2 separate regions of the Homo sapiens genome follow, and region 1 is linked to region 2. Evidence: promoter capture Hi-C in 16 types of primary human blood cells and fetal thymus (Javierre and others, 2016). All regions are on one chromosome and are shown on one strand. The core of a region is centred on a gene start or on the middle of the fragment in contact, and the rest is flanking DNA. Distances in the headings are between cores, read along the strand shown. Region 1 overlaps IMMT (inner membrane mitochondrial protein). Region 2 holds the start of RETSAT (retinol saturase).

Evidence for each region. The method cuts DNA at HindIII sites, captures the fragments that hold promoters and counts their contacts. A CHiCAGO score of 5 or more calls a contact.
Region 1: a contact is called between a fragment that was not itself captured here and the fragment with the promoter of RETSAT in region 2, in 1 of 17 cell types (monocytes). The highest score is 5.6, in monocytes.

Annotation. Positions count from the first base shown.
Region 1 is chr2:86,182,255-86,187,091 of GRCh38, reverse strand. All of the region lies in intron 1 of IMMT (inner membrane mitochondrial protein), which reads left to right. Among named protein-coding and RNA genes, the nearest start is that of MIR4779, 8.4 kb to the left of the region's middle. The HindIII fragment of the contact is 1,922 bases long and covers 1,333-3,254 here.
Region 2 is chr2:85,353,278-85,358,189 of GRCh38, reverse strand. It overlaps RETSAT (retinol saturase), which reads left to right and starts at 3,662. Exons shown (of 11, transcript NM_017750.4): 1 at 3,662-3,854. The coding sequence starts at 3,683. ELMOD3 (ELMO domain containing 3) reads right to left here and starts at 3,421. Exons shown (of 14, transcript NM_001135022.2): 1 at 3,361-3,421; 2 at 3,020-3,114; 3 at 2,592-2,635; 4 at 938-1,223. The coding sequence starts at 991. RefSeq lists enhancers at 2,965-3,024, 2,659-3,158, 3,195-3,594, 3,159-3,660. The HindIII fragment of the contact is 19,367 bases long and covers 1-4,912 here.

The DNA.
Region 1 (4,837 bases), core at 1,044-3,543, 830 kb before region 2:
GTACATTTTAAAATGGTTAGAATGGTGAATTTTATGTTAAGGGGATTTTGTCACATAGAGGAAAAAAAAAATACCTGCCACCAGGTATTTGCAGATGGCCGGAAGTATAGAGCCAGAGCTAGATACACACATACACACCCTAAACTTGCAGAGGCTTCCATTGGCCCAAGATAGGAAAATTTGAGCAAAAAGACAGTAATTACAAATGGTTGAAATCCATCAAAAGTGTTTAAATCCATGAATTTAAAAAGATCTGTTCTTATGAGTTACAGCTGCATAACAGGCCACCTTGAGCTTGGGGTAAAATAACAGTATTTATTGCCTTACTCAGTTCTGGAAAATTTTTGCTCAGAGACCCTCATGAAGTTGCAGTCAGATAGTTACTAGGTCTACAGTCATCCCCAAGTCTTCTTTACTCTCATGTGTGGCAGTAAATACTGGCTGCAGCTGACACCTCAGCAGGGACTGTTGGCTGGATCACCCATCTGTGGCATCTTTAAGTGTCTGGACTTCCATACACTTTGGTGGCTGGGTTCCAAGGGCAAGTGTGACAAGAGGCAGAGCTAGGTAGAAGCTGTATCCTTTTTATGTCTTAGTCTCAGGAGTTACAGAGCATCACTTTCACTGCCTTCTATTAGTGAATTAGTAACAAAGGCCTGCCCTTGTTTAAGGGAAGTGTACATAAAACTTATTATTGTTGGGAGAGGGGCACGTTTCTGGAACAGCATGTGGTATAGGAAGTATTGTTGCAGTCAATTTTGGATATTATCCTCAGCCTTCTGGACCCAACTGACATCCCTCCCACATGCACATCCCTCCCACTCACAACCTTCTCCAAGACTCTCCAGAGTCTAATGCCATCAAAGCATCAGCATTAGGAACAAGATCTTGTCATCTGAATCAGATCCTACTATGGATAAGACATCTTGAATGTGGTCCCTAGGGTATAGCTTCTTAAACACTTTTTTTGGTGATCTAAAGCCCTGTAAACTAAAGAGACAAATTATCTGCTCCCCATACATTCAGCATATGGTGGTATGACAGACACAGGATAATCACTCTAGACACTCCTATTCAAAAAGGCAGAAACTAAGAGGCACACAGCAGTCACCATTCCATAACAAGTGTAAAATTCAGCTGGCCCTATGTTTCTAATTCCTTGATGAGAGCTCAGTCCTACTGCTTGGGAATGATTCTCCTCAGCTCTTGGTTCTACCCTTTGGGCTCCTGGTTTTACACTTGAATTATTCTTCCGTTTCCAGAATATGTTGTCTGTTACAGCTGAATTGTTTCACAGCCTACTTCCTGTCTGTAGAAGTTTGTCTAGAAGCTTCTTTTCATTTTGTCCTCTTTTTCACTTTAAATATAAGCCAGCATGTTTTTTATTGACACAATTCTCAACAAGTTTGTGGGTTTCCTGTGAATCTTAATGGGATTTTCTTCATTAGATGCATGATACACATCTTATCAAGATAAGCCCTTCTCCATTTTGGGCTTCCTGTGAGGCTGCTGTAGGTAACACCTTTAATGTTCTGAGTAACCTTATTGATTCAATAGAATCTGGGAAACACATCCTTATGATTCTTAGAGGGCCTTTTCCTCAAGGTAAAAAGACTCTCTGAGGGGCACCTCCTTAGATCTTTTTGAGATCTCAAAGTATCTTTTGGTCACACACTAGATTTGATCTTTGGCTTGAAGCCCTTCTCTATTTGAGAATCTATTTGAAAACAATAAGCAGTTTTATTTTTGAACCCACCAAATCCTGACTCTTTTATATTTCCTTTAAATTTTGCTTGAAAGCAAAACAGGTTTTTGTTTTGTTTTTTAATGCTTATCTCTGTCCTTATCATACTCAGCTAAAAGAAACCAGTTAGCGCTTGTGATGAACACTATACTTGGAACTCTTTTGTTTTTTTTTTTTTAAGACAGAGTCTGGCTCTGTCACCCAGGCTGGCGCAATCTCGGCTCACTGCAAGCTCTGCCTCCCGGGTTCATGCTGCCTCAGCCTCCCGAGTAGCTGGGACTACAGGCGCACACTGCCACGCCCGGCTAATTTTCTGTATTTTTAGTAGAGACGGGGTTTCACCATGTTCAGCAGGATGGTCTCAATCTCCTGACCTTGTGATCCGCCCGCTTCGGCCTCCCAAAGTGCTGGGATTACAGGCGTAAGCCATCGCGCCTGGCCTACTTGGAACTCTTTAGCCAAGTACGTCAGTTCATTAGGTGTAGCTACAGCTATACTTAATTTTCTATTTTCCATGTCTGTCATTACAGATGACAGTTTTGATAAACTTCTGTCACTACATAACAAGAATATCTTTTCCTCCAGGTTCCAAAATTTTTTTTTTTTTTTGCTTTTCTTTAAGCCCTCACCAACAGGCTCTGGAAGGCCATTAGGCTTCTGCTCACAGTCTCTTCAAGGTTCTTCAGCTTCTGCCGCCCCCAACACCAGTCCCAAAGTCATGACCTCGTGTTTATGTTTTGTTGCAGTAGCACCCCTCTTCTAGGTATAAACATATGTTTGGTTATCTGTAGCTGTGTAACAGACCACCCTAAACTTAGTGGTATTAAATAGCAGTGTAATTATAATTATTATATTAACAATAACAAACGTATTAATATATAAATTATGTAAATAAAAATTACTCAGTGCTTTGAGAGGCCAAGGTAGGAGGATTGCTTGAGGCCATGAGTTCAAAACTAGCTTGGGTAACATAGCAGACCTGGCTCTATAAAAAACAAGAACAAAAATATTAGCTGGGTATGGTGGGCATGTGCCTGTAGTCCCAGCTACTCAGGGGGCTGAGGCTGGAGGATCACTTGAGCCCAGGAGTTAGAGGTTACAGTGAGCTATGATCATACCACTGCATTCCACAACCTTGGCAACAGAGCAAGACTCAGTCTCTTAAAAAAAAAATTATTTATATGCTTGAAACACTCTATTTCTGTATTTTCACCCCTCAGATTGTCAATGATGAAAAAAAAATGATACAATACAGTGTGTTGGAGAAAATGTGGGAAAACATACTTTCATATTACTAGAGGGCAGTTTGGCTAATTTGGCAGTATTAATCAACGTGGCAAATTTTACTTTTAAGAATAGACCCAAAATTGTGTATACAGTGTTACTCAGGTAGCATTATTTATTTTAACAAAAATTTAGAAAAAACCTCAGTGTCCCTCAATAGGGGCTGGTTAACAATTAAACATTAAGTAACAATGGAATACCAAATCATGAAATCCCTTGGGAAGCTTTTCACGTACTGATATACAGTGATTTAAAATATATATCCTTGAACTTTAATAGAGAATTGCGTGTATATTATGGTATCATTTGTGTAAAGGTGGGGAAAGTCAGGAGAATATGCACATTTGAATAAATATACATAAAATGTCTCTGGATAAATAAGAAACTGACAGTGTCAGTTGCCTATGGCAAGCATGGGGTGGCTGGGGAAAGAAGTATGAGGAAGATTTTACTCTATGCATATTTAAACTTTTAAAATTATTATTTAAAACCTCAGATTTTAAATTTATTTAGTATTAGGAGCTTTTAACTTATAGTCAAAACACATTCTGTCAAAGGGAGGATGGAGAGTCAAGATAAAAGAAAATAGAAGGTAGATAAAGAAACATTTAAAAATACTGATGCTGGGCGTGGTTGTTCATGCCTGTAATTCCAACACTTTGGGAGGCCGTGGCAGGAGAATAGGTTGAGACCAGGAGTTCGAGACCAGCCTGGTCAACATAGCAAGACCTGGTCTCTACAAACAACAAAAAAAATTATTTAAAGAAAAACTGATGTGACTTTGGGTAGTCTGAAACTCTAGTATTAAATTTGTCCCTGATTTCCTGGAGTCAGTTATCCATTGTGCTTGCTGCTTGATACTCCAGTTAGCTAATTATCCACTGTTGACAGTGCCTTAACTTTTTACCTGAATACCTATTTATACCTAGACAGATAAAAAATGCAACCTTAAATATAATACAACTTCAGTGGCCTCTTAATATTTTCTCCCTAAGTCACAAAAATGGAATTGTTGACATATAAAAATAGATGCATTTCTGTTTACAATTTCATACTACTTTACAGAATAGAAGGAAAACACCCTTTTCTATTAAAAATGGTTCAAAAATGTTGGGAATTCTACAGGGTAGGTAATAATTGAAATACTGGGTTTTTTTTGTTTGTTTGGTATTTTTTGTTTTTGTTTTTGTTTTTTTTTTTAAGGGGAGTGGAGGAGACAGGGTCTCATTCTATTGCCCAGGCTGGAGTGGAGTGACACAGTCTTGGCTCATTGCAACCTCCACCTCCGGGGCTCAAGCTCAAGTGATTCTCATGCCTCAGCCTCCCAAGTATCTGGGACTATAGGCACATGCCACCAAACCTGGCTAATTTTTGTATTTGTAGTAGAGATGGAGTTTTGCCATGTTGCCAAGGCTGGTTCTGACGTCCTGGGCTCAAGCAATCCCCGCCTGCGCCGCTCACCCTCGCCAGCCTCCCAAAGTGCTGGGATTACAGGCATGAGCCACCATGTCAATAATTGAAATACTTTTTAATACCAGTTGTATCTGCTTTACATATTTTAAAACATCTGATTTGTTTTTTTGTTTTTCAAAATGTATGACTGCATTAGTTAGCTGTTTACCTCTAGGCTTTGGCCAGTAGAGTGTAAATTATAACTAGAGTAATTTCATGTGTCCTATGATCATGTGATAGATTTTCCTAAAACTATAGATACTTTTAAAAGGAAGTTTGTGTTATTCTGATATTCGTTAAATACAATTTCATTAAAGAACCTAGAAAAAGCATTTTTCCTCTTGTTGCAGTTTGATT
Region 2 (4,912 bases), core at 2,413-4,912:
CTCTTGCCTCAGCTTCCTGAGTAGCTGGGATTACAGGCATGCACCACCATGCCCAGATAATTTTGTATTTTTAGTAAAGACAGGGTTTCATCATGTTAGCCAGGCTGGTCTCCAACTCCCGACCTCAAGTGATCTGCCCACCTCAGCCTCCCAAAGTGTTGGGATTACAGGCGTGAGCCACTGCCTCCAGGCTCTTATATTTCTTTTATATGTTTCACAACCATTGGCACAGTACTAAGCACAAAATATATTTCTCAAATTTTTGTTGAAATTTTATCTCTAAAATATTTGGTGATTCATTGTGCTGAACAACTTCCTGCAGGCATCTGTGTACCTGAGATTCATTTCATCCTTCCTTTCCTTCTCCAATTCAGTCCCCTCCAGTGTCCAAAGACTTCCCTCTTTGGAACAGTTCGCATATTACTACAGTGAAGAAAATCTTTCTGGAGACCCAAAGCAAAGGCTTTGTCCCAGTCTGGCCACTGAATCCCACAGCCTCCATTTAAGACCATTTTTGGGTGGGCAAAGTAGTGTGAAAGGTAAGGCATGTAGGGTTAGCTGCCCGGCTCATACAAAGACATATCACATTGAACTGAGTCCTGAGGATGATCAGGCCAAAGCAAGCGTTTCACAGGGAAGAGGCTAGTAAGGTAATGATCCAAATCAATGAAATACAGATTTCTTGGGTGATTCCTCAATGAAATTCTCCCCACTACCCAAGCAAAAAGAAAACAAAAATCTCATAACTCACTTACAAAACAAGCTATTAGGAAAAGCAATTGACCCTGAGGTGAATAGAAGCTCCTTCTTACAGAACAAAGAGAACTATAATGAGGGTTTCTAAATTTTTCCAAATATTCTCTTAATATATTCTTACTATACTTAATGATATATCTCAAACCAACACCACCTTTCCCAAATAAGAGTGCATGCTTACCTGTCCATCTCTTAATTCTTCTTTACTATGGAAAGAGCAAGATTTTTCATTCATGACTCAAAATCATTTGTTCATGTGAGCTTTGTCCTTGGGCCCAGAAAGCATTTTAGTAAGGTCTGAGATCAGAAGCTATGTGGAGAGCCAGAGATCCAGTTGCTCTACCTTTGCCTTCCTTGGCAGTCACTCAGACTAAGAGTAAGAAAACAGTCCCTTTGTGCCATCCGAGGGTGTAGGAGGTTTCTGTGAGTGCTGAGAGAAGTCCTCTGAGGTCTTCGAAGCCTCAGCTCTGCACAAAAGAAAAAAAAGAAATTGAAAAAGAAAACTGGTTTCACCATTCAGTTATGCCTCTGTTGACAATTTTTTTTTTTTTTTGAGTTGGAGTCTTGCCCTGTTGCCCAGGCTGGAGTGCAGCCGTGCGATCTCGGCTCACTGCAACCTCCGCCTCCCGGGTTCAAGCGATTCTCCTGTCCCAGTCTCCCGAGTAGCTGGAATTACAGGCGTGCGCCACCACACCCTGCTAATTTTTGTATTTTTAGTAGAGATGGGGTTTCACTATGTTGGTTAGGCTGGTCTTGAACTCCTGACCTCGTGATCCGCCTGCCTCGGCCTTCCAAAGTGCTGGGATTACAGGCATGAGCCAACACGCTCGGCCTGTTGACAAAATTTAAGCAGCTGTGAATTTATTCTGAATGAACAACTTGCCTCAGCCAAATGCTTACCTCTTACTACCCAAGCCACAGGATGGCCAAAAGGGGACCACACAGGGGACTGTGAGCTGGATTCTGTGTCCAAAAGGCAGCAGCACCACTAGAAGGGATGGGGTCTGTTTCTGACAATGGAGTTACTGGGACCTGGGCCAGCTTATCAAAGGCGTGAGGCTAAAGGTGTCACCTTGGTGGGTGGTCTTAGCTGAAGTGCTCAGGCTTTGTTTAGGCCTCACACACAGGCTGGGTCAGGGGCTTATAATACTAGACCTGGTTCCAACAATGGTAGAAATTCAAAATGCAACACGATGTTCTAACCTTTCTCAGTTATCAGCAATACTGTGCATGTGGCAGCTGGCTAGCCAGTTTGGGCAATTCTAAGTCTTTCATCTGACATTGCTTCCCTCAGGAAAAGGGCTGGACAAGGCTCATACCTCATCACAGGGGAATTGGACATCCGGAATGTCTGTCACATCAAAAATTGCATCCTAAGTGGGCAGATGGCCCACACACAACTGACAATCATAGTTCACAACTTTGGGTGACTAAGGAAGGAGGGTAGCCTCTCTATGAGGTCAGCCCTCCAGGATGCCATAAAAACTGGCTGCTGGTGTCAGGATGCTTTGATTATTAACACTGAGAGGAAGAATACCTCCTGGCTCTTGGGCTTGACATGTGGCTCACTGTAATCCGGGGGACAGGGCAATGCCCCCTTAGTCCTGGCACCCCAGGAACTAAACTGCTCTCACTGTGGCCTCTGGGGCCTCAACATCTGCCTCCCCTTTCCTTTTCCTCCATCATGGCCTCCATGACAGCCTATGACAAAACACACATTGGCCAGCCTTGGCAAGGTGACAGGCGGGTATGGTAATAGCAATCTCAGGAGGGCTCTTCTGTTGCTGTGTAGAAAATGAACCAAGTAGCATAGAATCGTGACCAGCTTTCCACACCTGGCTGGAGCACTCCTGGGGCCTTCAGTAGGGACAGTTACTATCTGTAGCAGAGAAGAAAAGAGCAACAATTCCATTAAACAAGGAAGTACTCAAAGGCAAATTCCTGATAGTTGGACCTAAGGAAACGGCCTTCCTGTAAAAATGGATCCTTCTCCAATCAAGTATTCATTATGCACCCTCTTTAGGCAAGGAGGGGGTATGATTCTTCAACTGCTTGCTGGAGGTTAGATTCTCTGCATAGGAATTTAAATTAGATGGGCCCTTAGCTGATCCTTTCACCATGCTTGTCCATGGGCGGCTCCCCGTCCCCCAGGTTCCCCACGGATGGGGTGTCATTAGGGACCCGCCATAGAGGACTCCGTCCCAGGCGGGCCCCCAGGACAAAACTATGGGCCACTTTGAGGGGCACAGAGACAGACGCTCACCGGTTGTGATGCGCAGGTAACAGAGAGCTCAATTCATCATGACAACCAGTCAGACAGGGGCTGTGAGCAGCCTTTGGACAGAACTTTCGCATAGCCTGGAGGCGTAAGACGAGGAAAGCAATTTAACACCTCAAGGCAGCGAGTCCAGGGCAGAGCCAGGACCAGAACTCAGGACTCCTGTCTCCCAGTCGGGATTCTCTTTCAGTCTTACAACTCTCGGCCTTGTCTCGCCCCATAGTGATAATTTCCACCGGATCACATTCTCCCTCCCTCCTCAGGCCGGCTGCTAGCTCCGCACAGGCACCAACCACTCCCCTTGGCAAGTGTTAACGCGTTCTCACCGTTAAAAGAGCTTTCCAAACTTGGGGGTCCCGCCGCCTCGGCTAGGCCTCATCTGCTCATGCGCACAGCCGCTTCCGTGCCGGCTCCCCTGGCCCCGAGAACTACATTTCCCAGTAGGCAATGGAAACCCAAAAGAAGTACGGAGAGCCGGGAGGGTCAATCATCACCTGAGAGTTGGCTCTTCGCTGGCTGGCTGGTTAATCAGTGCTCAAAGCTGCCTCCGCCTCCTGACTGGAGAGCGAACTAGCCCGGGCGGAGCCACAGTCCTAGAGGCTGAGCGCAGTCGGAGCTGTCCCATTTACCCGACCCGACGCCGGCGTGATGTGGCTTCCGCTGGTGCTGCTCCTGGCTGTGCTGCTGCTGGCCGTCCTCTGCAAAGTTTACTTGGGACTATTCTCTGGCAGCTCCCCGAATCCTTTCTCCGAAGATGTCAAACGGCCCCCAGCGCCCCTGGTAACTGACAAGGAGGCCAGGAAGAAGGTTCTCAAACAAGGTAGCAGGAGGGACCCTGGGGTCCGGGGCTGCACTCGAGGCTTTCTCACAGATTTGGGTTCTCATTTTGCCAAGGCAGCCGCTACCAGACGTGGGCCTTAGTTTCCCCATATGTAAAGTACTAGGAGGGCTTCCTTGCACGTGGAGGAGCCCCGCTTTAGTGTGCAACACTGTCGATAGCCTTTGCCCTAGTAGGCCCCGGGAATAGTAGTCCCAAGGGTGTGGTCATTGTCCTTGGTTTGCAAGGTGTTGGCACCCGCCCTGCCACTTGTAATCCCCGTGGCTCGTGGAACTGATAATCCCCGTGACTCATTCCTCCACTTGGTTCCAGGACCTTAACTTTTTCACCTACCCTCCCATGCGAGCTCAGGGGTGTGGGGGAGCAGCACAGAAATGCGTAGGAAATTGCGTTTTGCCCGTCCGGTGATTTAACAGGCTTTGCATGGTCCCAAATCGTAAGGATTGAACCCTAGTTCTGAAACATTGGCAGAGGTTCAACAAGGCGCCTCAGGCTCAGAGCCTGCTCTCCACTCTCATCTTTAAAACATATTTTGTGGTTGCTTCTAGAGTTTAAAGAGTTCTGCTGCTTTAAAAAATAATGGATCACCTGTTTGATCTACGGAGTCCCTCTCACTTGTAAATTTTAGAATTCTCCGTGTCATATCTTGCTACACAATCGGAGACAGTACTGTTCTAAGTGGAAGGACTAATCATCTGGACTTCTGAGAACTGAGTTTTAGCTTGGACTCTGTCACTAATTTGCTGCATAACCATTAGCACCTACCTGGGCTGGTCTAAAAATGAGATGACTAGCTTAACTGCTTTTCAAACCGGATTGTGATCTATTAGTGGGCTATGAAATCAATTTAGTGAGTTGCAACTGGCATTATTTATTTATTTATTGAAACAGAGTCTCGCTCTATTGTCCATGCTAGAGTGCAGTGGCGCGATCTCCGCTCACCGCAACTTCCGCCTCCTGGGTTCAAGTGATTATCCTGCCTCAGCCTCCCGAGTAGTGGGCATGCCCAGCTAATTTTTGTATTTTTAGTAGAGACAGGG